Regions from separate parts of the Homo sapiens genome. Here regions 2, 3, 4 and 5 are each linked to region 1. The links are contacts of gene promoters, found by promoter capture Hi-C in human tissues and cell types (Jung and others, 2019). All regions are on one chromosome and are shown on one strand. Each heading gives the region's core, a stretch centred on a gene start or on the middle of the fragment in contact. The rest is flanking DNA. Distances are from core to core; before and after follow the strand shown.

Evidence for each region. The method cuts DNA at HindIII sites, captures the fragments that hold promoters and counts their contacts. A contact is called where the count stands out against the background at its distance.
Region 2: a fragment that was not itself captured here is called in contact with the fragment with the promoter of GPD1 in region 1 in 4 of the 25 tissues and cell types used here (IMR-90 fibroblasts, adrenal gland, mesenchymal stem cells and 1 more).
Region 3: a contact is called between a fragment that was not itself captured here and the fragment with the promoter of GPD1 in region 1, in 1 of the 25 tissues and cell types used here (pancreas).
Region 4: a contact is called between a fragment that was not itself captured here and the fragment with the promoter of GPD1 in region 1, in 2 of the 25 tissues and cell types used here (IMR-90 fibroblasts and pancreas).
Region 5: a fragment that was not itself captured here is called in contact with the fragment with the promoter of GPD1 in region 1 in 1 of the 25 tissues and cell types used here (dorsolateral prefrontal cortex).

What each region holds. Positions count from the first base shown.
Region 1 is chr12:50,100,600-50,106,466 of GRCh38, forward strand. It overlaps GPD1 (glycerol-3-phosphate dehydrogenase 1), which reads left to right and starts at 3,409. Exons shown (of 8, transcript NM_005276.4): 1 at 3,409-3,492; 2 at 3,975-4,152; 3 at 4,949-5,089; 4 at 5,689-5,827. The coding sequence starts at 3,452. SMARCD1 (SWI/SNF related BAF chromatin remodeling complex subunit D1) reads left to right here. Exons shown (of 13, transcript NM_003076.5): 13 at 1-108. RefSeq lists an enhancer at 2,419-2,468. The HindIII fragment of the contact is 8,009 bases long and covers 1,337-5,867 here.
Region 2 is chr12:50,384,327-50,389,734 of GRCh38, forward strand. The region is part of intron 1 of FAM186A (family with sequence similarity 186 member A); the gene reads right to left. Among named protein-coding and RNA genes, the nearest start is that of FAM186A, 9.6 kb to the right of the region's middle. The HindIII fragment of the contact is 5,559 bases long and covers 1,100-5,408 here.
Region 3 is chr12:49,806,713-49,811,985 of GRCh38, forward strand. All of the region lies in intron 1 of NCKAP5L (NCK associated protein 5 like), which reads right to left. Among named protein-coding and RNA genes, the nearest start is that of NCKAP5L, 19 kb to the right of the region's middle. The HindIII fragment of the contact is 4,128 bases long and covers 1-3,532 here.
Region 4 is chr12:49,750,199-49,755,558 of GRCh38, forward strand. It overlaps TMBIM6 (transmembrane BAX inhibitor motif containing 6), which reads left to right. Exons shown (of 10, transcript NM_003217.3): 2 at 2,266-2,351; 3 at 2,775-2,883. The coding sequence starts at 2,296. Among named protein-coding and RNA genes, the nearest start is that of TMBIM6, 11 kb to the left of the region's middle. RefSeq lists an enhancer at 3,653-3,742. The HindIII fragment of the contact is 5,198 bases long and covers 1,512-5,360 here.
Region 5 is chr12:50,605,801-50,611,512 of GRCh38, forward strand. All of the region lies in intron 1 of DIP2B (disco interacting protein 2 homolog B), which reads left to right. Among named protein-coding and RNA genes, the nearest start is that of DIP2B, 100 kb to the left of the region's middle. RefSeq lists an enhancer at 5,696-5,712. The HindIII fragment of the contact is 7,225 bases long and covers 1-5,512 here.

The sequences.
Region 1 (5,867 bases), core at 2,159-4,658:
CCCTTATTGATGTTACCCAGTTTTAATAAAAGAATCTTCTGAAGGATGGGTCCTCCTACCTACTGTGAGAGAGCTCTTCCCTGAGCTCTTCTTCCTTCAATACCATTAGCCACGCTTGTAGTGTTTGTTCATTTTATTTGACAAGTATTTATTGAGCACCTGCTATGTGCTAGTTGTGATGCTAGACACGGGAGATAAAGTGGAAAATGAGATTTCTACTTTTGTGGACCTCAGGGTCTTACCTTAAGAGATTGCTGTCTGCCCCAGTGGTCCAAGCAGCCTAGTTGCTGGTTGGGATTATTGGGCTTCACCACTGGATCTTAAGAGCCCTTTCCCGACTTGCTAGGCAGGTACTAACAGGTTGGTGGCAGTCATTTTCCCCCTTGTCCATCTGAGCTCCCCAGAGCACTTGTTGGCTGGAGTGAGCCATAGATGCCCGTGATCCCTTAGGTTTGACGAACCTGAGCCGCCTTTGGAGGAGTTTCACTTCTTCCCCAGGGCTTCTGTTTAGATGTGGGCAGGATCTGGACGACCAAAGACATTTTTGCTTTTTGTGCCTGCTACTCTTTTTTTTTTTTTTTTTTTAGACGGAGTCTCACTGTTGCCCAGGCTGGAGTGCAGTAGCGCGATCTTGGCTCACTGCAAGCTCTGCCTCCTGGGTTCACGCCATTCTCCTGCCTCAGCCTCCCGAGTAGCTGGGACTACAGGCGCCTGCCACCATGCCCGGCTAATTTTTTGTATTTTTTAGTAGAGACAGGGTTTCACCGTGTTAGCCAGGATGGTCTCGATCTCCTGACCTCGTGATCCGCCCGCCTCGGTCTCCCAAAGTGCTGGGATTACAGGTGTGAACCACCGTGCCCAGCCTGTGCCTGCTACTCTAAGGTTCCGCTTTCATGGTTCAAATAAGAGTTCAGTTTTTGTTTGCCTGTTTTGAGATGGAGTTGTGTTCTTGTTCCCCAGGCTGGAGTGCAATGGCGCGTTCTCGGCTTACTGCAACCTCCGCCTCCCAGGTTCAAGTGATTTTCCTGCCTCAGCCTCCTGAGTAGCTGGTTCTTAAGAGCACCATGGAAGTTCTGTGTTGTCATCCTCATACTGTAGACAACTAGCCCCTCCTTGGCAGAGTTTGGAAGACAGCTCAGGAGGGATTCCCATTAGCAATCACTTGAAACTCGCCTGCAGTTCTGCCTGCTTCCCACTTGGAGGCTCATGACTTTTTTCCTTTGTCATTATGCAAGAATGGGGTTTGGAATATAGGATCAGAGTACAACCACTTTCCAAAGTTGTAGTTTAAAAATTATCCTTTGCCTGTTTGGATGGGAACATTCTAGTATTGCCTGTTCAATATATGTAATCAAACCCACCAAAAAATCCAACCACTGTTCCTACTCCGGAACTTGGGGTTTATCAGACTTGAGAAGGGAAAGCAGAGAGGAGTGGTTGGGCCGATAACTAGGAGTGGAGAAAATTGATGTCAAGGACATTGAAATGGCATCTGTTTTTACCCAGGCTAATTACATGTGTAATGAATGGCTGATGAACCATTATTAATTTCAAGCAAATCTACAGTTTGCTCTTGGGAAAAGAGCTCTAGTGATACAGATAACTTCCTGTGATGAGCCGATTCTGAATCTCTGCACCCTCTTTATTCCCATGTAAATGAGCACATTCTTAGTCTCCACACTATCTAAAATGATTGTAGGGGCAAAATGAGAGAGGGAAGCATTTAGGCAAAAACAAGGGGGTTATTTTATGCATAAACATCCATTCTTTGGGGCTCCCATCATTTGTGCCAGGGACAGAAGCATCCTTTCTCTTCCATCACCCGTAATCAGTGCTCCCAGCTGGCAGCCTGGCACTGGAGCCTTCATCTCAGTGCCAGTGCAATAAAGGAGTGGTCTGTGGGAGGCTGTTTCTGTATTAGGTATAACATTGTGCTAAGAAAAACAGCCAACTACTGATTTCATGTCCGTTTCCCTATGGGAAATTACTGGCCATGGAAGGAGAATATGGTTGGTTTTTCCTGGGCAGTCCCCGGAACTTAGAAAGCCATTTCTCCCCAGTCTTGACCTCCTGCCTGCTTACTCCTACCCATGGGTTGCACACAGACTCCCCTGTAGCCCAGTGCTTGTTACCAGTTGCTGGCCAGCAACAGCCCAGGGGGATGGCAACACCCACCTAGCCGTCTGCCAAGCCAGGAGGTCAGCACATGAGCACACAGTGGTGTCTGCCCTCTAGGCCAAGGTGCACAGTGTTAGGAGCCTCTTGCTCCACTCTCCAGATCAGCCTGGAAACCAGAGCTTCCCTCGTCTTAGACAAACAGATGGCCGTGGGCGATGCAGAGCCCTGAACTGCTGAGGGTGCTCCTTCCATTCTCGCCCTTCCCCAAAAAACATACACCAAACTTACCCCCAATCACAGCATCTGAGACCACAAAGCCCCACGGACACAGCTGCCCCGGGTACTGCCTGCCTTCCCCTTTTCTGGCCTCTGCAAACTAGCCATTCACCTGATGAAGCCCCTGGGGCAGTACCTTGGAAACCCCTGAGAGGAGGAGTTGAAGGAGGCTCAAAGCCTTTCAAGGACAGTGTGCACTCTGCCTGCCTCCTATTCTCTCCTGTCCTCTTAAGCCCAGAGTCTACAACAAAATTGTGTACCGCAATTCTCAGAGCTCTCTAACTTTAACCTTTCCCACCTTCCCTAGAACACATTTTTGGGTGGGGATCATCTGAGAGGCCCATGGATGAGTCCCCAAGATGACCTCTGTGGGTGACCAAGACAATCTTGTCTTTTGAGGCACCTGGAGTCTCTCATCCTTTTTTGAGCTGGGCTGTCCTCAAAGCAGGCCCTTACCTCTTATGTGGCCTCATCTTTAGAGGTGGGAAGTGGGCCCACATCCCCCACCCCAGCCCTGCAGTGGAGCTAGCGTGGGCCTGCTGGAGGACAGAACTGTGGAACAGGGTCCTGTGAGGATATGTGGCAGGGTTGGCGGGGGGATAGGGGGTCATGGAGGAGCCTACCTCTGAAAAGCATTCCCCTAGCTGCTACTGAAGCTAAATACAATTTATTTCATGCTGGGGGACAGAAAGGAGCAAGGGAGAGCAGTCACCTGCTCCTTATCTGGGCTATTTTCTTAGCAGACCTCAAAATGAGACCATGGTGGGAAGCTGGGCTGGGGCCAAGGGAAGAAGCTTGCCAGCACTGTCAGCCGATGAGCCCAGGAGAAAAAGCTGGGCCTAGTCTCTGCCCCATTCCTGTTCCACACCTGTCTGTACCCCTGTCTCTCCTTTCCCTGGCTCTGCCAGACTCTCTATCTCCCTGGGCGCCAGCCTCCCCACCCACCCCTGGAGGGCGGGGCTTGGCTGCACCCACGTGTGGTGGAGTTAAATGCTCCTAGCCGGCAGAGGAGCTAGGGAGTGTGGCACTGAGCCGGCTCAGGCAGAGACGCGGCACCATGGCTAGCAAGAAAGTCTGCATTGTAGGCTCCGGGAACTGGTAAGCAGCTCTGTCAAGTGATATGGGGGAAGGGTAGGCCCCCCAAGACAGAGGTGGGTAGGAGGCAGAATGGGTGGGAAAGGCCCTCAGGTTCCTGTTCAGCCCCTGCTGCTATCTTCTATCATAGCAGCACAGGACAGACGGTGCCCGGCCCTCTCCTGACCCCCGCCCTCCTGGGCAGCTGCACCTGTTCACCATGGGAAGGCGTCTCCAGAGCTCTCTATGTGAAGAGCCGCTTGAGTTTGGGGGTGGGAAGATGAGAAGTGGGGCTCCCTTCTCTAGTAGCAAAGGGTGAGGAGACTGAGTCTCCTTTCTACTGCCAGGTCACTGGGGACTATTTGTCATGGGAGTGGAGGTGATAAGGAAGGTAGGTAGGAGTGAACAGCCTGGGGGGCTGCTGTGAGATCCTGAGGTGGGGCGCTGCCCCAACTCCTGCCACTGTTCCCTCCTCCTGTACTTTCCTGTGCTCCCCCTCCCACCAGGGGCTCAGCCATCGCCAAGATCGTGGGTGGCAATGCAGCCCAGCTGGCACAGTTTGACCCACGGGTGACCATGTGGGTATTTGAGGAAGACATTGGAGGCAAAAAGCTGACTGAGATCATCAACACGCAGCATGAGAATGTCAAATACCTGCCAGGGCACAAGTTGCCCCCAAATGTGGTGAGCCCCAACACCCTGCGAAGAACAGGGAGAGGAAGGGAGGGCCAGGAGTTGGAGCCGACCTTACTCAACAGGTGCCTCCTGCTGAGAGGGCCGCTTCAGGTGCAGCAGGACTTGGGAAGGTCTCAGGAGGGCTGCTCTGGGCCCTTTCCTGAGGACTGAGGAGAACCTATGCTTTCCCCTCACAGGCTCCCAGGCGGGTGGGTGGGGAAGGGATGGGAGAACAAGTTGGTCTCCATGGCAGCCAAAGACTGGGCTCCCAGACTTGGGGTCCAGTAGTGCCTGCCTCCGGCACTAATCCTGTTACTCATTCACTGAGTGAGTAGCCGACTTGGAGGCTGCTCCTTGGACTTACGGTCTTTGGTCAAATCCACGTGGCTCTCCCCACCTGGAAAGGGGAAGCAGGGAAGAGAGCAGAAAGGCTGGGGCTCCCCCTTCCCAGCTGGGGTTCCTGAGGAGCTGGGTGATGAAATCTTATTTGAGCTCTTTCTTTTGCCAAGCCCAGGCTGCTTTTGGCCTCCCGCACTGTCCCACAGCCAAGGGATAGGAGAGTGCTGGGATGAGGTTTCCAGGAGTCCTCAAGAGCCCAGGACAGCTGGAGGGAGACAGAGTGGTAGCTGGGGGGAGGGAGTAGAGTGTCTTATTCCTCCAAGTTCAGTCCTTCTAGATTCAGTCCCAAACAAGCCTTCCTGCTCCCCTACCAGCCTCACTCTTTGGCTCCCAGATCTCCTGAATAGGGTTCCACAGGGGCTAGGGGAGGTCTGCCAGGCCCGCGAGCACTTGGTCACCCCCACAGGTGGCTGTCCCAGATGTGGTCCAGGCTGCAGAGGATGCTGACATCCTGATCTTTGTGGTGCCCCATCAGTTCATCGGCAAGATCTGTGACCAGCTCAAGGGCCATCTGAAGGCAAACGCCACTGGCATATCTCTTATTAAGGTGCCAGGGACACCTTCATGTGGATGGGGGAGGGTGCGGCTCACTGTTGTGGGGTTCAGGGTGGGTGAAGCAAGGAGAACAGAAAATGGCAGACGCAGGCCAAGAGTTTGCTGGAGAAAAGAGAGGCAGTTGGCTCTGGAGAGGCTTAGGAAAGCAGTGAGGTGCTGGGGGTCACTGGAAGGGAGGCTGAAGGGAGGAGACGAGATTGGTTTGGAGGTCCTCTCGGGGAGTTTCGGAGGTATAAAGGAATGCCTGGGAGATATGAGAAGCGGGCTGGTTTGAGAAGTGTGAAGAGTAGCTGGTTTGGAGCAGTGACTGGTCACTGAATGGCAGTTTGTTGGGGCAGTCAGGCGGGGTTGCCTAGGGATGTGGAGGGGACCCGTTGCCTTGGAGAAGTAGACTGGTTGAGGGTATGTGGCAGGACAGTTGGTCACATGCTGTCTGGCCTCCTCACAGCAAACTTGAGCTGGGTTGGAATGGGGCAGGACCTGTCGGGAGGGACACAGATGAGCAATGGATTTGGAAGGGACAGAATTTCTGGGCGGAAGCCCGCAGGTGGGCCCAAAGGGCACCTGGCCTGAGCTCCATCCTGTGCTCAGGGGGTAGACGAGGGCCCCAATGGGCTGAAGCTCATCTCGGAAGTGATTGGGGAGCGCCTCGGCATCCCCATGAGTGTGCTGATGGGGGCCAACATTGCCAGCGAGGTGGCTGATGAGAAGTTCTGTGAGACAACCATTGGTGAGAGCCCCCTGGCACCTGCATACACAGTGCATCTAGT
Region 2 (5,408 bases), core at 2,629-5,128, 280 kb after region 1:
AGGCTGGAGGATCCCTTGAGCCCAGGAGTCCAAGGTTTCATTGAGCTATTATTGCACCACTGCACTATAGCCTGGGTGACAGAGCCAGACCATGTCTCTAAACAAAAATAAATAAATAAACTAAAACATGTATGGAGCCACAACAGACCCTGAATATCCAAAGCAATCTTGAGTAAAAAGAACAAAGCAGGAGGCATCACTGTACCTGATTTCAAAATTCAATACAAAGCCATAATAATCAAAACAGTGTGGTACTAGCATAAAAACAGATACATTAGACCAATGGAACAGAGTAGAGGGCCCAGAAATAAATCCACACATTTCACAGTCGATTGATTTTCAGCAAAGATGCCAAAAACAATGTGGAAAGAAGAGTCTCTTCAATAAATGGTGTTAGAAAAACTGGATATCCACGTACAGAAGAATGAAATTAGACTCTAAACTTACACCATATACAAAAATCCACTCAAAATGGATTAGAGTTTTTGTTTTTTTTTGAGACTGAGTCTTGCTCTATTGCCCAGGCTGGAGTGCATTGGCGCGATCTTGGCTCACTGCAACCTCTGCCTCCCAGGTTCAAGTGATTCTCCTGCCTCAGCCTCCCAAGTAGCTGGGATTTCAGGTGCCTGCCTCTATGCCCAGCTAATTTTTGTATTTTAGTAGAGATGGAGTTTCACCATGTTGGCTAGGCTGGTGTCAACCTCCTGACCTCAGGTGATCCACCCGCCTTGGCCTCCCAAAGTGCTGGGATTACAGACATGAGCCACCATGCCCAGCCTGGATTAGATTTAAACATAAAATGTGAAATTATGGCCTGGCGTGGTGGCTCATGCCTGTAATCCCAGCACTTTGGGAGGCCGAGGTGGGTGGATCATGAGGTCAGGAGTTCAAGACCAGCCTGGCCAACATAGTGAAACCTTGTCTCTACTAAATATACAAAAATTAGCTGGGCATGGTTGTACGCACCTGTAGTCTCAGCTACTCAGGAGGCTGAGGCAGGAGAATTGCTTGAACCTGGGAGGCAGAGGTTGCAGTGAGCTGAGATTACGCCATAGCACTCCAGCCTGGGCGACAGAGCAAGACTCTGTCTCAAAAAAAAAAAAAAAAAAGAAAGTATAAAACTACTAGAAGGAAACAGGGGAAAAGTTCCATGACATTGTTCTAGACAATGATTTTTGTATATGGTTCCAAAAGTATAGGCAACAAAAGCAAAAATAGACAAATGGTATTACATCAAACTAAAAGGCTTCTTCATGATTTCACTCATATGTGGAATCTAAAGAAGTCAAACTTGCCGGGCGTGGTGGCTCAAGCCTGTAACCCCAGCACTTTGGGAGGCCGAGGTGGGTGGATCACGAGGTCTCAGGAGATCTAGACCATCCGGGCTAACATGGTGAAACCCCGTCTCTACTAAAAATAGAAAAACTTAGCCAGGCGTGGTGGCAGGCGCCTGTAGTCCCAGCTACTCGGGAGACTGAGGCAGGAGAATTGCTTGAACCCAGGAGGTGGAGCTTGCAGTGAGTTGAGATCGCACCACTGCACTCCAGCCTGGGCAACAGAGCGAGACTCCATCTCAAAAAAAAAAAAAGAAGTCAAACTCATAGAAGCAGACAGTGTAGAACAGTGGTTAGCAGAGGCTGGGGATGGGCAGATTGTGGAGATGTTAGTCAAAGGATACAATTTTTCAGTTAGACAGGAGAAATAAGTTCAAGAGATTTATTATACATCATGATAACTATAGTTAATAACAATACATTGTATACTTGAAGATTGCTGAGAGGAGATATTAAGTGTTCTCACCACAAAAAGAAATGTGAGGTGGCCAGGCATAGTAGCTTACGCCTGTAATCCCAGCACTTTGGGAGGCCAAGGTGGGTGGATCACCTGAGGTCAGGAGATCGAGATCAGCCTGGCCAACATGGCGAAACCCTGTCTCCACTAAAAATACAACAATTAGCCAAACCTGGTGGCACCCATCTGTAATCCCAGCTATAGGGAGGCAGGAGAATCGCTTGAACCTGGGAGGTGGAGGTTGCAGTGAGCCAAGATCATGCCATTGCACTCCAGCCTGAGAGACAGAGTGAGATCCTGTCTCAAAAAACAAACAAACAAAGAAACAAACAAAAAAGATATGTGAGGAAATGCATGCATTAAGTAGTTGGATCTAGCCATTCCGCAATGTATAAATATATCAAAACATAATGTTGTACACCACACATAAACCGTTTTGGTCAACTCAATACAGAAAAAGAACATTTTGGCCGGGCTCATGCCTGTAATCCCAGCACTTTGGGAGGCTGAGGCAGGCAGATCACTTAACGTCAGGAGTTCAAGACCAGCCTGGCCAACATGGTGAAACCCCGTCTCTGCTAAAAATACAAAAATTATCCAGGCATGATGGTGCGCACCTGTAATCCCAGCTACTTGGGAGGCTGAGGCAAGAGAATAGCATGAACCCAGTTTGGGGGTGGGGGGGTTAGGGAGAGGTTGCAGTGAGCCGAGATCGTGCCACTGCACTCCAGCCTGGGCAGCAGAATGAGACTCTGTCTCAAAAAAAAAAAAAAAATTCAACTTATGATTTCATCCCAGATGGATATTGGAAAAAACTTTCAGTTTTTTTTTCTATTCTATTTTTTTCTATTCAGCAAAACAGTTATCAACTTATTAACACAGAAGACTTCCATGATCAGACCAAATGTGGGGTCGGAGGAGCAGATTCTCCCCACCACCAAGCAGGGAACCATTTCTGCAATGGACATCAGGTGGGTGTCTTTTATTTCAATTCAGACACCATCTACCTAGATACAGTGTCAGATCCCATAGGTCGAAGCCTCAGTCCCCAAAACTGCCCCCACTCAGACACCAGTCACAAATCCAGGCCTCCAGAACTTCTGACCAATCAATTTCAATTTGGCATTCCTAAGACTCCCTCTTTTGGTTGGATTAATTTGCTGGGGCAGCTCACAGAACTGGTTTATTGAAGAGATGCTAGGGCAAGGTATTGTGGAAGGGGAATGGAGCTTCTGAAGCAGCTACATTGTCTCTGTTGTATACCTGGGGTTCATCATCTGGTACCAGGAAAATTTAGGACACGAATACACACTAGGAGTTTAGGAGTGGAGGTTTAATAGGCAGAAGAAAAGAGAAAGAAAAACAGCACTCTCAATAAAGAGAGGGAGATCTTCCCAGAGGAAAAGACCGGCTGGTGGTGGATGTGCTAGATTTTATAGTGTGGCTTGAGGAGCTGGTGTCTGATTTATGTAAGGCTCACAGATTGGTTCAATCAGATATGATGTTTACATAGTGCATATGGAAGGCTGGTTGCTTCACCCTAATATTACTATGCAAATGAACTCTCCTTGGCCGGCACCACGTTGTCTCCTCCTTACTGTACACAAGGCTGGCAGAGAAGGAAAGATGGAATCGCCCTCTTGAACATGTCTAGTCCCTAGTTTCTGCTGGCATTCACCCCTGCAAGCTCCCAGCTTGCTGCTCTGTGTCTGCAGCTCGACTTTACAGGCTGCTCTTTGTTAGAAAATGATTTGGGGCTGCTTTTCATTAAAAAGAAAAGCCTTACCAAGGACTCCCATACCCTCACTATCTGCCTACGTGATTTCTTCTTAACTCCTATATCACTTTCATATTCTCTCTGGGCACACCACTCTCCAGGAACCTCCATGTGTTCAACTCTCTGTAAGCTCTCCAAACCCTGTCCTTTGGGTTTGTATGGAGGTTTGATTACATAGTTATGGTTGATTAAACCATTGGCCGTAGATAAGCAGCTTGACCTTCAGCGGCTTTCCCCACCCCTGAAGGTTGGGGGGTGGGGTTGAAAGTCCCAACCCTCTAATCAGGGCTTTGTCTTTCTAATGACCAGTCCCATCCTGAAGCTAGCTGTCAATCATTAGCATACAAAAAGACATCACTTTGGAGATTCCAAAGATTTTAAGAATTGTTATATTTCACAATATCCCAATGGAATAACAGGGTCAAGGTTTATCCTTTCAGCCAGGCGGGCGCAGTGGCTCACACCTGTAATCGCACACTTTGGGAGGCAGAGGCGGGAGGATCCCCTGAGGTCAGGAGTTCGAGACTAGCCTGGGCAACACAGTGAAACCCCCCTCTCTACTAAAAATACAAAATTCAGCCAGGTGTGGTGGCACATGCCCATAATTCCAGCTACTTAGGAGGCTGAGGCAGGAGAATCGCTTGAACCTGGGAGGCGGAGGTTGCGGTGAGCTGAGAATGCACCATTGCACTCCAGTGTGGGCAACAAGAGTGAAACTCCGTCTCAAAAAAAAAAAAAAAAGATGTATCCTTTCATCCTGTCAACTAAGTGACAGTTGACAGTTACCTAAAAGGATTAATGAGAACAATTCACAGACCTCACCTAGGAAGGGGCAATAGTTTCTCCCTAGGAAAAATTAATTTCTTAAAATACAGTGCCTGGGCACAGTGGCTCATGCCTGTAATCTTAGCACTTTGGGAGGTCGAAGCGAGCAGATCACTTGAGATCAGGAGTTTGAGACCAGCCTGGCCAACATGGAGAAACCCCATTTCTACCAAAAATACAAAAATTAGCTGGGCGTGGTGCATGCCTGAGGTCCCAGCTACTCGGAAGTCCGAAGCGGGAGGATCACTTGAGCCTGGGAGGCGTAGCGTAGGTTGCAGTGACACGAGATCGTGCCACTACACTCCAGCCTGGGCAACAGCAGAGGGAGACTCTGTCATTTAAAAAAAAGAAAAAAGAAAAAAAAAATCAGGTGTGATGGCTCATGCCTGTAATCTCAGCATTTTGGGAGGCTGAGATGGGAGGAACACTTGACTTCAAGAGTTAAAGACTAGCTTGAGCACAATAACAAGACCTTATCTCTACTAAAAATAAAAAAATAGGCTGGGCACTGTGGCTCACTCCTGTAATCCCAGCACTTTGGGAGGCCGAGGTGGGTGGATCACCTGAGTTCGGGAATTTGAGACCAGCCTGACCAACATGGAGAAACCCCGTCTCTACTAAAAATACAAAATTAGCCGGGCATGGTGGTGCATGCCTGTAATTCCAGCTACTTGGGAGGCTGAGGCAGTAGAATTGCTTGAACCTGGGAGGTGGAGGTTGCAGTGAGCTGAGATCGCGACATTGCACGCCAGCTTGGGCAACAAGAGCAAAACTCCATCTCAAAAAAAGAAACTTCCTTGGGCCAGATGGTTTTGCAGGTAAATTCTACCCAACTGGCAAATTAATATACTCCTGAGATAGAAGACCGAAGCTGTATCGCTGGCCTTCCCAGATAAAAGCAAACTACTTCTGGTGGGCCTTATTGACAGATTGGAAGAAATAATCATTTGCCAGATCATAGCGGCATACCAGGAACCAGGGAATGTGTTAATTTGTTCAAGCAATGAAGCCACAT
Region 3 (5,273 bases), core at 219-2,718, 300 kb before region 1:
CTCCACAGTAAAACAGACATTTAAGCTCCGTACAGCCCTAAGGCTCCCTGGAGGCTAGAAACTTGGGCTAGAAATCTGACACTAAAGAATCTCTTTTCTCTTGTTCTCACTTGTAAAACAGGGATAAGAACACTTAGCCCAAAGGGTTGTTGGAGGACAAAATGAGATAATATATGTAGAGTGTCTGGCGTGAATTCCATAAATGGAGACTTTTCATATCATCACCTGCTGACAGAGGCACAGTACAAAGCTATGGGGTTGTTGTGGAGCCTGCTGCTACCTTGTCCGTTCACACAGAGGCCGACTCCGAGTCCCAGGGCCCTTACCCAGGGGTCTCCGCTATAGGGGCACCTGAAGATCTCAGAATGCTGCTCTGCCCACCCTGCCCTCAGAGGCCTCCTCTCCAACTCCTCCCAGCCGGCCCTCCAGCCCCAGGGCCAGCCTTGCCTTCCCTCTTCTCTTCTATACCCCAGAAAGAGAAGCAGCTGGATGTTTGGGGGCTGGGATTACAGTGAAAAGAGAGAATGCTTCTTCGTGTGTGTGTGTGTGTGTGTGTGTGTGTACACAACAGTGGGAAGGGGACTTCTGAAAACACTTGGAGGAAAAGGAAGACCTGTTTAATACTGATTTTTTTATTTTTTAAAGAGACAGGGTCTCACCTCACTGCCCAGGCTGGAGTTCAGTGGCACGTTCATAGCTCACTGCATCCTTGGCCTCCTGGGCTCAAGTGATCTCCTGCCTTAGCCTCCCAAGTGGCTGGGATGAGAGGCACGAGTCACTGTGCCTGGCCTCTAATGCTTATTGTTAATACTGTATAATAATCTGAAGTTTTTTATTTTAACATCATAAAAATGTATCATATTTAACTTGGTTTGCTCATAACATTATCACGTTTGATAGACTTAGAAATATACAGGCCTGGAAAAAAAATGAAAAATATTTAAGAATTATCTTCCTTCCCACACTCAAATGGGGTGAAACCCAGAATGTCTCAGGTCACCTCCAGCATCTGACCAGTGCCACCCTCACCCACAACTCTGGTCTCTGGGCCACTGTCCTCCCACTGCCTGCAGCAACCTGCCCATCGGTCCCCAGCGTGTCCCTCAATCCCCTCACCATCAGAGGGGCTAGGGTGTGGCTGAGGTATGCTGTGGAGGAAGAGAAAAAAGTTGGGAGGGTGAGGGAAAGGAATGGGATGAAGAAGGCAGCATTCGGGGTCTGGAAAAGGATAACGCTAAGGACCGGGAAACCCTAAGATTTGTGTTCTTCACAAGAAAGCAACAACGAAACAATGTAGAGTATCTTTTCCCAAAATAATAAAAAAGCATCCAGGTTAAGAGCAAGGCCAGGCTGTGAGGACTGGCTGCGGACTCTCTATGTGTGCACGCAGTGGTTTTCTGTGTTGAGGAGCATGGAGACCCCACACACTCCACACAAAGCCAGGCATGGCCCCGATCCACAGCTGAGCCCCTGTGAATCCCAGGCCAGGAGGCCCGAGTTCCACTGAGAATGGGGGAGACCCTCCGATTTATGAGCCAGCCAGTGGTCACAGTTCTTCTTCTCAGAGTGCCCCAGCTGGAGTGGGGCTAGGACTCAGCCCCTCTTCAGGAGAAATACTTTCTGGCCTCACAGCGAGGGGGTCTGGGGTCAGCCCAGGATGAGGGGGCCTCCTCTGCATCTGCAGGGCCGTCACAGTGGAGGGCAGGAAGCTGTCACGGGGAAGAGACCTGCAGGAAAGCTTGGTGGTGGGGAGGAGCACGGGCCATGAGAGTCGGCCCAGAGTCTGAGTTCAAGATTTCTAAAGAAAACTTCCTGCGTCCTTACCCTTCTCTAGGGAAGGTCAAGATCCAGAGAGAGACCACCACCACCAGCTCCAAATCGAAGCCAAGTCAGGAATGTGGCCCTCTGGAGTCTGGGCTTTCTGCCTGCCTCTCATGGGGGATGCCTGCCCAGGCAGGCTTCGCAGTGGTGGTCCCTGCTGCCTCCCCAGGGGCTGAGCACCGCCTCCTCCCTCAGGACCCACAGCTCCTGCTCACAGCCATGAGCTCAGCCCGACCTGGGGCAGGGAAAACCCCAGGCTTCGGGTTTTTGGAATGGCTCTGGTTTCAGACATTCCTCTGGTGGCCCCAACACGTCTGGGACGCTGGGTCTGGACACACAGTGCCGGCCAGGCAGGGTCTGGGAACTCTAACTTGAACTGGAGGCTTCTCCCGCCGGAATTGCCATCCACAAAGGCCTGATTCTGAGGGAGGTGACCTCAGTGCAGGGGGAGGGAGAGAAGGAGGGGGGAGAAGAGCGGAGTCCTCTCTGGCTCGTCCTTCAGAGGGTGTGGGGAGGGGGCCAGTTTTCAGGCAGCCAGGGCCGAGGAAGGAGGAAACTTGCTCAGGGGTCTCTGGGTAACCTGGGCGACCACCATCTCTTCAGCCAAGTCAGTCACGGAGGGCCCCAGCTCTCCCTTCCCCCTTAAAGCCAGGAGGGGACAGGGGCTTTCAGGGCCTCCAAAGAGATCTTACTGTCCTGGCCTTTCAGTTAGCCAGACCAGAAGGGGTCTGTGGCTCCTACCTCCTCTCCAGCAGGGCACAGGCAAGACCCCTCCCTGAACAGAGACCAGGCATGGGAGGAAGGGGCTGGAGAGGCAGGCGGCAGCAAGCCTGTCCTCATTCCCTCACCCCGGCCCTTAGCCAAGGCCTCCTGGCCCCTGGTGAGCCCCTCATTCACCAGCTGTTCCCCCCAGAGTCCTCTAGGGAGAGAAGCCAGGGACCAGGAGTGGGGGAGGGTGGGCAGCTGTAGGAAGGCAGAGATGGAGAGCTCACTTAATCACAGAATCACCCGTAACACCAACCGCTTCCCTCCGCACCCTCCCCAGCTGCTTTCTGGAATCCCTCTTACCCTCCCAGCCCTTTTACCAGTCACACCCAAGAATCCACTTGTAAACAGCAACTTCTGTCCCCACAGCAAACACCCTTTCCAGCCAAGATCAGCCCTGGGCTGCTGAGGAGTGTGGGGAGGGATAGGAGGACTGAGGCCTGGCTCCCAGGGCACTTCTAGCCTGAAAGGGGCCACTTAATCCCTGACCCAAAGCATCTTTCAGCCCTGAGAATTCCAACTGGTCTCCTCCCCATTCAGGGTAAGAGGGCAGACAAGAATTTCCTTCCCTCCTCCTGACAACTGGTACTGGAGACACAATAGCCCTTCTGAGAGGCATCTGTCTTGGAAGGGGCCCCCTACATCCCCCCAACTTCCGTTTCACAGGCACTCCAAGCACCTCAACCACCATGGTGTGAGTTCTTCCAAACCAGCTGCAGGATAGGTCCTCGGCCCTTCCAGGAAGGGAAGAAGGAAGGGCAGTCGTGTTATAAGCCCCAAAGGCCTCCAGATTTCAACATCCCTCATCTCCCCTCCCTCAGAGCCCTCCTGCTCCCTGTCCACAGCATAACCCAGTAACAAAACTAGCAGCTGCCGGGGGTGGGGGGAGGGAAGGGGGTGGGGAGAGGGAAGGGGTGCCGACACAATGGGTTTATTTATAGGACCACACACCAGGGGCTCTGCAGCCAAGTGGCCCAGGCCCCACTCCCAAAAGTCCAGCCCAGGCCGTCCTAGCCCAGCCGAGGGTACTGGAAACAGCCTTAGACCGGAAGGCAGAAGAGTCTAGGCATGGAGTCCAGTTCGAACTCTGCAATTAACTTATGTGCTGTGTGACTAGGCAAATCATTCCGTCTCCCCGAGATGAGTTTCTTCACGCCAAGTGGTTGTTGTTCTGCCACAGTGGTTCCCACAGTGGGGCCTAGGCACCCTGTGGCCCTCTCCAGGGGTCTGTAAGGTCAAAGCTGTTTTCCTAATACTACTACTAAGACACTATCTGCCTTTATTACTCTCATTCTCTCCTGAGTGTACAGTGGCATTTTCCAGATACTATGCTGTGTGATACCGCAAAAGATTGAATACCGAAGCAGACAGGAGAAGCCAGCTTCCTTCTATTAAGTCAGACAGAAGAAATTTGCAAAAATAGAGAACAATGACTTATTATTATTTGTGTTTTTGGAACATATACAATTAAATTTTTAAATAAAATATGTTAACATGTGATGGGTTTATTGCTATTTTTAAACAAATTAATTAAATAACTGTAAGTATAACATTTATAAACAAAAGCTCTTCGGGGTCCTCAAGTTTTAAGCGTATAGAAGGGTCCTCAGACCAAAAAGTTGGAGTCATTTTTCTAGAACAGTGCTGTCCAGTAGAACTTTCTGTAATAATGAACATGCTTAGTCTGTACTATCCAACATGGAAGCTATCTATTAGCTACACCTGGCTGCCGAACACTTGAAATGTGGCTAGTCCAACTGAGGAACTGAATTTTACATTTAATTTTAGATAGCCACATGCGAGCTCAAGAAGTTCCCTGGGATTCCTCAACTTGCGTATTCTAGGACAATGCTTCTTTCCACAAGGAGTGGGTGTTGCAAAGGGACTCCTGTCCCCAGGCTTGTGCTTACGCGCTCTCTCACTCTCTTCCCCACCACAGAAGGCCAGCTCAGCCCCACTGTCAGTCCAGCCTGGCAATCCTGCCCAGCTCAAGTAAGAGAGCTGCTCTCTCATTCTGTGCCATGAGTAGCACACACCCTCTCCACTCTCCTATAACTTCTGGCTTACCACCCTCCTGTTTCCCCAGAGGATTAAAGCCAGCAGAGGGGAACCCCCTCACACCTCCTGCCGCCACCCTCCCATCCCCCTCGGAACCCTCCCCACCTCCTCATCCACTATTACAGCAGATGAGTTGCCTGCTCCCGGGCAAAGCCAGTCCTGCTTGTCCCAGACTTTCCCCATTTACGTCTTCAGTATCTACCTCCTGAAGACAGCTTTCTCATCTACCCTTTAAAACTTAAAATCTTTAAATCTTAAAAACAATCTTCTCGTTGGGCACAGTGGCTCACACCTGTAGTCCCAGCTACTTGGGAGGCTGAGGTGGGAGGATCACTTGAGGGACTCCGAGTCTGCAGCGAGCTATGACCCGGCTACTGCTGCACTCCAGCCTGGGCGACAAAGAGGGACCCTTTTTATTCTCTTAAACAAACAAAAACAACAATCTTTGCTTGACATTTTCCCAGATACTGCCAAATTTCAAAAAATACTCTAGATACTTCAAAGCCAAACTTCTCAAAAAACAAAAAAGAAAATCCCAAAACCATCTTCTCATTGTTCCCTTAACCTGGTCCGACTTCAGTGGTAACCACCACGATGCTAAATCCAAACAATATTTTTCAGTCCTCATT
Region 4 (5,360 bases), core at 2,861-5,360, 350 kb before region 1:
GGAGTTTCTGCCATTCTCCCCTCGAACAGATTCCGCCAAGCAGGGTCTGGTTACATGAGCATTGCCTCTTTCTTAGAATCCCCTGGGCGTTTGAGGATCCACCCCGCTCCATCCCTTACCTTTCTTTAATTCTTGTAATTGGAAGCAAGAGGTTCTTTAGCATTGCTGTTGTGAATACTGAGAAACTTGGCTCTGAAAGTTGCTTCAGTATTATTGTAAGTGCTGTCTAGGGATGTCATTAGGGGTGTTAATGGGAAACCTTAAACAAAGACACTTTCCAGGTGCTGAATTCTGCCATGCTGTAAGTGTGCTCTCTAGAGGACATAGTCATATTCATCTTGGTTATGGAAGGCTGTGGTTGGCCTTGTAACAACCTGCAATAATTGCACCATCTAGATCAAGAGGGCCCAGATCCGTGTGACTCAGAGGAGAGAGCAACAACCTTAGTAGGTTCTGCAGCTTCTCACTGTATCTGTCCTTAAGAACAGAATTAACAAAAGTTCTGAGGTGAGTAGTGATGTTAATGAGAGAAGGAAAGAAGAAACCAGAGAAAGCAAGCCAGCCATTGTGATTGTTTCATTTGTGGGAGAGAGCCTCAGGAAGCAGATGATGTTTATATCTTTCCACTGGCCCAGGATTCCTTAGGAAATTTGTTTGGGGACTGTAACTTTTATTATTACCTAGATGAATTGTTCTGAGTGTTGGGCTGGGTGCTGATTAGAGTGCTTCATTCAGTAGGTGGCGTTTCACACAACTTTATGTTTGAATCCCTTCCTCCCTGCCCCTCCTTTTCTGGTAGATTTAAAATGGATGGGCATTATGGCCCTGATAGGAGTTTGGAGGATTTATATTTAGAAGAGATGAAAGTTCTTGACTGGATCTTTAGTACTGTAGATTGAACACGTTTACTTAGGATTGCATGTGAAATAGGGGAGGGAGCAAAACTTAAGAACTTGACTTTATGGTGTTGATATGATCTAACCTGGATATAGTTCAGTTTAAAAATGCCCTTTTTGACATTGGGACAGTTGGCAAAAATCTGAATAAGGTCTGCAGATTAGAAATAGTATTGCATTAGTATTAATATCCTGATTTTGATCATTGCTTTCAGGATATACACACTGAAGTGTTTAGGAGCACTGTGTCTGTATGGTTAGGGAAAAAATATTTTTACATCTGTCTATATATTGCTATATAGAAAGAAGATGAAGCAAATGTGAAATATTAGCATTTAGGAAATCTGGGTGAAGGTTGTACAGGAATTCTTTGTACTGTTCTAACCTTTCTGTAGGAAAGGTTCTGAAACTGTCAAAAAAATACCCCCCAAAAAATCCTCCTTTCTGCATAAATTCCTTTTTTATGGAGGTAGGAACCTCTCTTTTTTTAAAATTGTGAGTCCTTTTCAGTTCAGTTCTTAAATGTGTTAGGTTAAGAAAATTTGATACGCATATATTTAAAATGCAAGTCTTAATGCCAGACCCAGCTTTATAGTTTTTGTTTGTTTTGTTAAGACTAGTCAAAGTTTTGTTTTTTATCTTTGAGGTGCTGCTAGTGAGATAATTTTTTTTTTTTTTTTTTTTTTTGAGATGGACTCTTGCCCTGTTGCCCAGGCTGGAGTGCAGTGGCGTGTCTTGGCTCACTGCAGCCTCTGCCTCCCAGGTTCAAGCAATTCTTCTGTCTTAGGCTCCTGAGTAGCTGGGATTACAGGTGTGTGCCAACACACCCAGCTAATTTTTGTATTTTTAGTAGAGACAGGGTTTCACCATGTTGGCCAGGCTGGTCTCGAACTCCTGACCTCAGGTGATCCGCCCACCTCAGCCTCTCAGAAGTGCTGGGATTATAGGCCTCAGTGAGCCACTATGCCCAGCCAAGGGAATTCTTTAGCATCTTGAAACAATGACATAAAATTGCTTTATGTGCCAATGTCTAGGTTCCTTTAACTAGATTGTTAATTGAGAATTTCTTTTATAAACTTACTGCCTTTTAAAGTGGCAAATCACCTGAAAGAATAGAAATCAGATGATAGTAACAAAATAGTTTGAGGGAGAAGAAGATGCATTCAATTCCTCTGTCGTCTTTAAGATGGTTGACTATGATTGCAAATATATTGTAGGACACATAAAAATAAAAATGGTTGTGTTAGGGCTGTAGAATTTTAGGCAAGTTTTCATCTTTCTGAACTTACATGTTGCTTTTTTTTTTTTTTATAAGCTGTTCGTGTGATTCTGTATGACTTAATGACTCTAACCTTTCTTTATTCTGCAGAGTGGAGACTGCTGCACGGACTCTGGAACCATGAACATATTTGATCGAAAGATCAACTTTGATGCGCTTTTAAAATTTTCTCATATGTAAGTGTTTTGACCTTGACTGGTTTTGTACTGCATTTCTTTTCATATCTCTTTGTCCCTTTTCTGCATTTATAACTTTTGTGTGTATAAGCTAACAAATTAACTTGGCCAGAATCCAGAGGACCTGATGAAAATGTCCAAATTCTACACGTTGCTGTGTGGTTATTGGAAAGGCATTTATTCTAGTTTGGGTACTGATTATTCATAATTTTGGGCATTTGGTCTTCCTCAGCATTTAAGGTTCTGTTAACCTATTTTCAAAATATTATTTTTTATTGTAATATGCTTTCCTAAAAGTATTTCAAACTATTTGTAACAGAACTTTTACATATTCCCAGGAAGGGAAAGAGAGAAATGATTCTTCTTAGCTTAAATATGAGATTGATCTGGGACTGATTGCTCTTATTCACATTCTTTTCTTAGAACCCCGTCAACGCAGCAGCACCTGAAGAAGGTCTATGCAAGTTTTGCCCTTTGTATGTTTGTGGCGGCTGCAGGGGCCTATGTCCATATGGTCACTCATTTCATTCAGGTAAGAACGATTTTCTCTCCTGGTTGCTGTGGTACAAATTACATTAGGAAAAAACCAGCTCAGCAAGGTGGTCCAAGGGACCCTGTTCCTCTCTTTAATCTTTATCAGTAGTTTAGGATTTAAACTCAGACATTAAATCAGGACATGTAAAGCCATTTTAATTTTCTGGCAACTGTGCCCCCTCTAGATACCGAAAAACAGAATGCCTTAACCTTGGCACTGAATGGTGTGCTGCTGACGTACAAGACCCCCACCCACTGAGTAGGCGCATGGCATGCATGCTGGGATTCTTTGGCACAGAAGCTTTTTTATCTTTTCCTCCATTCTTCCTTTACAAAACTCTGATTGTGTGATTAACTATCAGGAGAGGCAGGATTGAGATCTTTTTAAGGAATTGACCTGTTTTATTTTCCGATAACTGTTGTCTGCATGGTTGGGTAAAAACCTTCAACAATTTGTTTTCCTGTATTGAGAGAGAATCTGGGTTTGGTCAGCAGGAGTAGAAGGTACAGTTTGAGGAATAACCAGAAAGTTTGAAGACTCCCTAACATAGTCTTGTGCCTTTGTAGAGTATTCCTTTTAGCATAAATGTAGAGGTGGGCCTCTGTTGGCATTTGCCACTGTTGAGAACTATCCTTATGTTCAGGCATCTCCTGGCAGGGATTGTGTGAAAAATTACTTTAGACACTCAAAGGATAGGGCTTTGATCGCTTGAGTTTTAGGCAAGGTTAGCCCTTAAATAATTTAGTAAAATACAGTCAATCCTTGTTATTCACAGACTCTATATTTGTGAATTCACCTACTCATTAAAATTTGTAACCCCAAAATCAATACTCATGGCACTTTTTTTTTTTTTTTTGAGACAGAGTCTCGCTCTGTTACTCATGGCACTTTTTGCAGACAGTCACAGAGTGGTGAAAAAGTTGAGTCACCCTGCTGTTGCAGTGTTTTCAGCTGAGGTTGAACAAGACAGTGCTCTGCCTTCTTGTTTCAGTTCTCGTATTGTAAACAAATGTTCTTTTCATGGTCATTTAGTGCCACTTCCTTTGTATTTTTGTGCTTTTAATTGGTGATTTTGCTGGGTTTTTTGAGTGGAGGTCTTGTGGTGTCGTCCTGACTGGTCTCAAACTCCTGGGCTCAATTGATCCTCGCACCTCAGCCTCCCAAGTAGCTGGGAATACAAGCACATGCCACCATGCTTGGCTTAATTTTGCTGTTCAGAATGCAAACAGCATAGTGCTGAAGTGCTGTCTAGTATTCCTGAGTGCAGAAAGACCGTAATGTGCCTTATGAAGAAAATGTGTATATTAGATAAGCTTCATTCCGGCATGAGTTGTACTGCTGTTGTAACTGTGAGTTCAATGTTAAGGAATCAAAAATAATGTCAAATGAGGTGTCCTTAAACAGAAACACATATAAAAGCAAGGTATCTATTGATCATTTGATGAAAATGTTGTGACCTTAGGCTTGCAGGAACCTACCTACCTTTTATTTCCCTCAGGAACAAGGGTTTACTAATTCATTGTCCACTGTGATTTTATAACATAAACACTGAATAATGAGAATCAACTTCTTCCTTTAAAGGAAGGAAGGAACTTCAGTGTCTACGTCCATCCTTAATGATTTCTCTTTTTTCTAATGCCTATAGTTTTTCCCACTTGGCGTTTTTAAAAAAAGAAACACTTTTTTCTTACTACAAAGCTAATATGTGTTCATTTTAGAAAATTCAGAAAACAGACTAGCAATGAGAAGGAAGTATTTTAGAAACTTCCATAATCCCATCATCCAGAAATAACTACTGTTAACATTTTAGTACTTTGCAGTCTTCTGTATATGTATGTGTCTTGGTGTTTTGGTGTTTGGGGGTTTTGTTTGTTGGTTTTTGTTTTTTTGAGACGGAGTTTCACTCTTGTTGCCCAGGCTGAAGTGCAATGGCGTGATCTTGGCTTACTGCAACCTCTGCCTCCCTGGGTTCAAGCAATTCTCTTGCCTCAGCCTCCTGAGTAGCTGGGATTACAGGCGTGTGCCACCATGCCTGGCTAATTTTGTATTTTTAGTAGAGACGGGGTTTCTCCATGTTGGTCAGGCTGGTCTCGAACTCCTGATCTCAGGTGATTTGCCCACCTCGGCCTCCCAAAGTGCTGGGATTACAGGCGTGAGCCACCATGTTTTTTTTAAAGTGACCAAAGGGGGATCATTTCTATTTGTTCTACAGATGGAATGTACTTTAAGCACTTGTCACGTTTCATTCATCCTTTCTATTTTTTGGGCAAGACTCACTCATAGTTTGACTTGGGTAGTTGTACTGTAGTTGAAGGACTACGCAAGCCAGAAGAGCCTCCAGCATCCACCATGGTCCTAACTCTGTGCTTCAAGGCTTCTGGGTTATCTCCTCAGCCCCATCCCTGAGAAAACACTACTTTTTCTCCTGCCTCCAGGTTATAAGCAAATGTTAGGAAGTTCAGACGAGTGTTTGA
Region 5 (5,712 bases), core at 650-3,149, 500 kb after region 1:
TATTTCCTGCTCTGCCTTTTCTTTTCTTTCGTTTTTTTTAGATGGAGTTTCACTCTTGTTGCCCAGGCTGGAGTGCAGTAGCATGATCTCGGCTCACTGCAACCTTCGCCCCCCAGGTTCAAGCGATTTTCCTAACTCAGCCTCCAGAGTAGCTGGGATTACAGGTGTGTGCCACCATGCCCGGCTACTTTTTTGTATTTTTAGTAGAGACATTGTTTCGCCATTTTGGCCAGGCTGGCTTTGAACTCCTGGCCTCAAGCAGTTCACCCATCTTGGCCTCCCAAAGTGCTAGGATTACAGGCATGAGCCACCGCACCTGGCCTTTCTTTTCTTTCTTTTGAGATGGATCTTGCTCTGTCACTTAGGCTGAAGTACAGTGATATCATCATAGCTCCCTTACAGCCACAAGTTCTGGGCACAAGTGATCTTCCCACCTCAGCCTTTTGAATAGCTATGGCTACAGGTGTGTGCCACCATGGCTGGCTAGTGTTTTTAGTTTTTGTAGAGATGAGGTCTCACTATGTTGCCCAAGCTGGTCTGGAACTCCTGGACCTCAATTAGTCCTCCTACCTTGACTTCCCAAAGTGCTAGGATTACCAGCATGAGCCACCACTCTTAGCTCTTCATTTGTTTTATTGCTGGATAATATTGCGAGGATATACCATGTTTTATTTATCCATTCATCAGTTGATGGACATTTGAGTTGTTTTTACTTTTCATTTACAATAATGATGCTATGAACATGGGTGTGCAAATTTTTCTCACCTTCAAAGGAGGTGGTTTTTAGCTGATCTTCATAAAATTCACTCATTCCAAAAAGGCATACAACTCATATCAGGACCCTTTGATTTGTAATTTTTTTCTGAGATTTTAATTTAATTTAATCTTTTTGATGGTCTCGCCCAGGCTGGTCTCCAACTCTTGCGTTCAAGCAATCGTCCCACTTCAGCCTCTTGAGTAGCTGGGACTACAGGCTCATACCACAATGCCTGGCTTCTTTTTCTGTTTTTTTTTTTTTCCTCTTGAGACAAGGTCTCATTCTGTCACCTGGGCTAAAGTTCAGTGGCACTATCTTGGCTCACTGTAGCTTTGACCTTCTGGGCTGAAATGATTCTGTCACCTCAGCCTCCTGAATAGCTAGGACAAGTGTGTGTCATCACACCCTGCTAATTTTTGTATTTTTTGTAGAGATGAGGTCTCACTATGTTGCCCGCAGTGGTAGTCTAGAACTCCTGGACTCAAGCAATCTGCCTGCCTCTGCCTCCCAAAGTGCTGGGACTACAGGCATGGGCCATCATGCTTGGCTTCTTTTTTTTTTTTTTGAGGTTTTGATGGTTGTTGGTGGAGTGGGTGGAGAGGGGAACTAACATTTATTTATTGAGTGTCTGCTTTGGACCAAGTACTCTGTTGGGAGCTTTGCGTAGATTATCTTCCTTAATCCTGTTAACAGTCCCATGAGAAAAGTGCAGATTTCCCCATTTTACAGATAGAAAAAAACAAGGACCCAGGAAACTTAACTAACATATCCAAAGAGACATAGCTAGTAAATGATAAGCCAGGTTTGGAACCTAGATGTTTCTGACTTCCACAGCATTACACAGATATGGAATGGAAGATCTAGACATTTTTAAACATTAAGACAAATTTTGAAGATAATCTCATTACTTATTTTTTATCAAATCAAGTCTTTCCTGTGATTTTTCTTCCTTTCCTTTTCTTGACAGCATCCCCTTTCTACTACTGAAAAGAAGGCCAGTGCTCTATCAGCTATATATTCAGTGGTTTTAAGATCTTTCGGCTAAGGTCAGGGTTTTTGTTCAAACACAGTCTTGCTCTGAAGTGTAATAGAATATAATCAGCAAAAGCAGAGTGGTTGAAGCTTGGAGAATTTCCTAAAATTACTAATAGCTGTAGTACAGCAAGCTCTTAGTCTGAAAACAGAGGAAACACATCATTCCTCACACAGTTTGCTTGTTTTCTGGGTTTTTTATTTGTTTGTTTGTTTTGTTTTGAGATGGAGTCTCAGTCTGTCACCCAGGCTGGAGTGCAGTGGCACGATCTCGGCTCACTGCAACCTCTGCCTCCTGGATTCAAGTGATTCTCCTGCCTTAGCCTTCTGAGTAGCTGGGACTGCAGGTGTGCGCCACTACGCCCGGCTAATTTTGTATTTTTTGTAGAGACAGGTTTTTACCATGTTGGCCAGGCTGGTGTCAAACTCCTGACCTCTGGTGATTCGCCCATCTTGGGCTCCCAAAATGTTGGGATTACAGGTGTGAGCCACTGCACCGGGCCACAATTTGCTTATTTTCAAATAAGCTGTAGTCTTTCAACAATTAGCAAATTAGTATTTGGAATTTGTGTCCACCAATTATTTTTAACTGATAGTTTATTTAGATAATATCTTGATGGGGAAGTCTTAGCATATCAAATGGTTGCTGTTTTAACTGCAAGAATAAAAAGAAACAAAAATGCAATTTAGAAAAGCCATTTTGATTATGCTGAAAACTTACGTGGAAACAGCATCTATCAGAAATAGTAACACTAGGTGCGGTGGGTCACACCTGTAATCCCAGCATTTTGGGAGGCTGAGGTAGTTGGATCACATGAGGCCAGGAGTTCGAGAGCAGCCTGGCCAACATGGAGAAACTCTGTTTCTACTGAAAATACAAAACATAGCTGGGTCCACGTGGTGGTGCGTGGCTGTAGTCCCAGCTACTCTGGAGGCTGAGGCAGGAGAATTGCTTGAACCTGGGAGGCAGAGGTTGCAGTGAGCTGAGTTCGTGCCACTACACTTCACCCTGGGTGACATAGCAAGACTCAGTCTCAAAAAAAAAAAAAAAGAAAGAAAAGAAAAGAAAACAAATAGTAACACTAGCACAGTCTATCGATCAACTAGTTCAACACTCTTAATGCGTGTTCCTAGATAATTTTACATTAGTTTAAAAGTTTCTTTGCAATACTCTGATTTCAAAGAAGTAAACCATATTTACTTTTGTAAGAATCCAGCCTAGAACAAAATTTCATTTATGTAAGCAGAAGCAGTGCAAAAAATATTTATTAGCCGGGCATGGTGGCTCACGCCTGTAATCCCAGCACTTTGGGAGGCTGAGACGGGTGGATCACCTGAGGTCAGGAGTTCGAGACCAGCCTGGCCAATATGGTGAAACCCCATCTCTACTAAAAATACAAAAATTAGCCAGGTGTGCTGATGGGTGCCTGTAATTCCAGCTCCTCAGGAAGCTGAAGCAGGAGAATCATGGAGGCAGAGGTTGCAGTGAGCCGAGATTGTGCCATTGCACTCTAGCCTGTCTGACAGAGCAACACTCCGTCTCAAAAAAAATAATAAAAAAAAAATTATCAAGAGGATTAACAATGAAAAGTTTATAAGGGATTTGTATCTTCTACATAAGAGTTAAATTAGCTTTTAAAAGTTTTAGTACCATGGTTTATGGTTCTGGTGGAGACACCAAGTAGCAGCAATTATTTGTTGCCACTTGACTGAAAATTGTCTCATTTGCTTTGTATTTGTTGGACAATGGGTTTAAGTACATGTAGTGAAGACCCCAAATAACAGGTACTTAAAACAAGATAGAAGTTTATTTCTAGGTCATGCCATGGTCTCAACTAGTACAGCAACTCTGCTTCATGAGGGTATTGGGCAACAGGCCCTTCTACCCTGTTCCTTCATCATCTACTGGTCTGGCTCTTCACCCTTTGTCCAATATAGCTGATTACCACATCCCATTTCACCCATTGGGAAGGGAGAAAGAGAAGGGAAGATACACCCATTCCATTTAAGAGCAAGATCTGGAAGTTGCACACATTCTTTCTGTTGATATCACATTGGCCAGACCTTAGTAATTTGACCGTACCTACCTATGAGGGGACTGGGAAATGTCATCGTCTTCTGAGTAGTTGATTGCCCAGCTAACCATCCTATTGTGGAAGATAAAAGAAGAGATAGGATGGACCACTTATCTCTCTTCAAATCCCTTGGCACACAAACTGCTTGTGGTTGTCTTTTTTTCTTTTACGCTTGGCTTTTATAATGATGTGTCCTGTTTCATGTTCTGTTAAAACACCATGTTCATAATTGAACAAAAACTTCATCCTGAGAAAACTGCATTACAAGAACATTTGTTATAACTAATAAAGGAAGTAAGTAAATCATATTCCAAATTCACAATGCCAAAGTATTTTTAATGCAGGAATTTTAATAAAGTTTTTAAGAATTCTGCAGATACAGCTATAACACCTAAATATAAATGACCAAACCCAACATTTGATTATTTCTAGCTTTTATTCTAGAATAATGATTTTTAAAATTACTACTATCACTGTCACCCTAAGGAATGGTTAGACTGCCTAATATCACATTTCCATATGTTGATAGCCTTGGAAGTATGTTATTTTTTCATAATATTCAGATGTGTGGTGATATTTGTTTGGGGAGTGATGGCAGGCAAAGAATGGTGGGTAGAGTTTTTTTGTTACTAGGAGTAGTGTTTTTTTCCTTTTAATTGCTAGTTTTGATTGTGATTAGTACAATGAGTGAAATACAGGAAATATCTGCTGGAACTCTGAAGTATTATTCCTTGCATTGTTGTCTTTGCTATTTTAGGATAAGGAATGTGTTGTTTCACCCCCCTCCTCCAAGTGAAACTTCAGGAAAGTAAAATTTTCTTTAGTGATATTGGAGATGTAAATATCTTTTTTTTTTTGGAGACAGAGTCTTGCTCTGTACATCCAGGCTAGAGTGCAGTGGCGCCATCTCGGCTCACTGCAAGCTCCACCTCCCGGGTTCACGCCATTCTCCTACCTCAGCCTCCCCAGTAGCTGGGAATACAGGCGCCCGCCGCCATGCCCGGCTAATTTTTTTGTATTTTTAGTAGAGATGGGGTTTCACCATGTTAGCCAGGATGGTCTTGATCACCTGACCTCGTGATCTGCCCGCCTCAGCCTCCCAAAGTGCTGGGATTACAGGCATGAGCCACTGTGCCCAACCTTTTTTTTTTTTTTTGAGATGGAGGCTCGCTCTGTTGCCTAGGCTGGAGTGCAGTGGCGTGATCTTGGCTCACTGCAACCTCTGCCTCCGTTCAAGCAGTTCTCTGTCTCAGCCTCCTGAGTAGCTGGGATTACAGGAGCCTGCCACCACCTCCAGCTAATTTTTTTGTATTTTTAGTAGAGATGGGTTCCACCATCTTGGCCAGGCTGGTCTTGAACTCCTGACCTTGTGACCCATCTACCTTGGCCTCCTAAAGTGCTGGGATTACAGGCGTGAGCCACCGCGCTTGGCCGATGTAAATATCTTTAGGGGGATAATAGACACACAAATTAAAGAGAGAAAGGATTGTATTATCAGCCAAGTCAAAAGTTTTATCTCCTAAACATTGGCGGATAGGTGTTTATAAAATTGCAAGTCATTTATAAGAATCCTTAGGCAGTTTGTCATAGTTCTTTGTTTCACTCTATTTTAAGTGCTTTCTTGCCTGCTAAAGGATATCAGCTCTTGTACTACCGAAATGCCCTGGACAGCTTTCTGTTACAAATTTATAGCTGCGAGATCATTTTTATTCTTTTTGGTTGCTTCTCCACCCTTCCTTGAGCCTCTATTCCTAAGAGTGTTATTAACGTTTAACATTTATTCTTTTGCTGAGGCTGCATTGAGGGGCGTGGGTTGTTTTTATTTAATCTTTAAAAATAGTAACCACC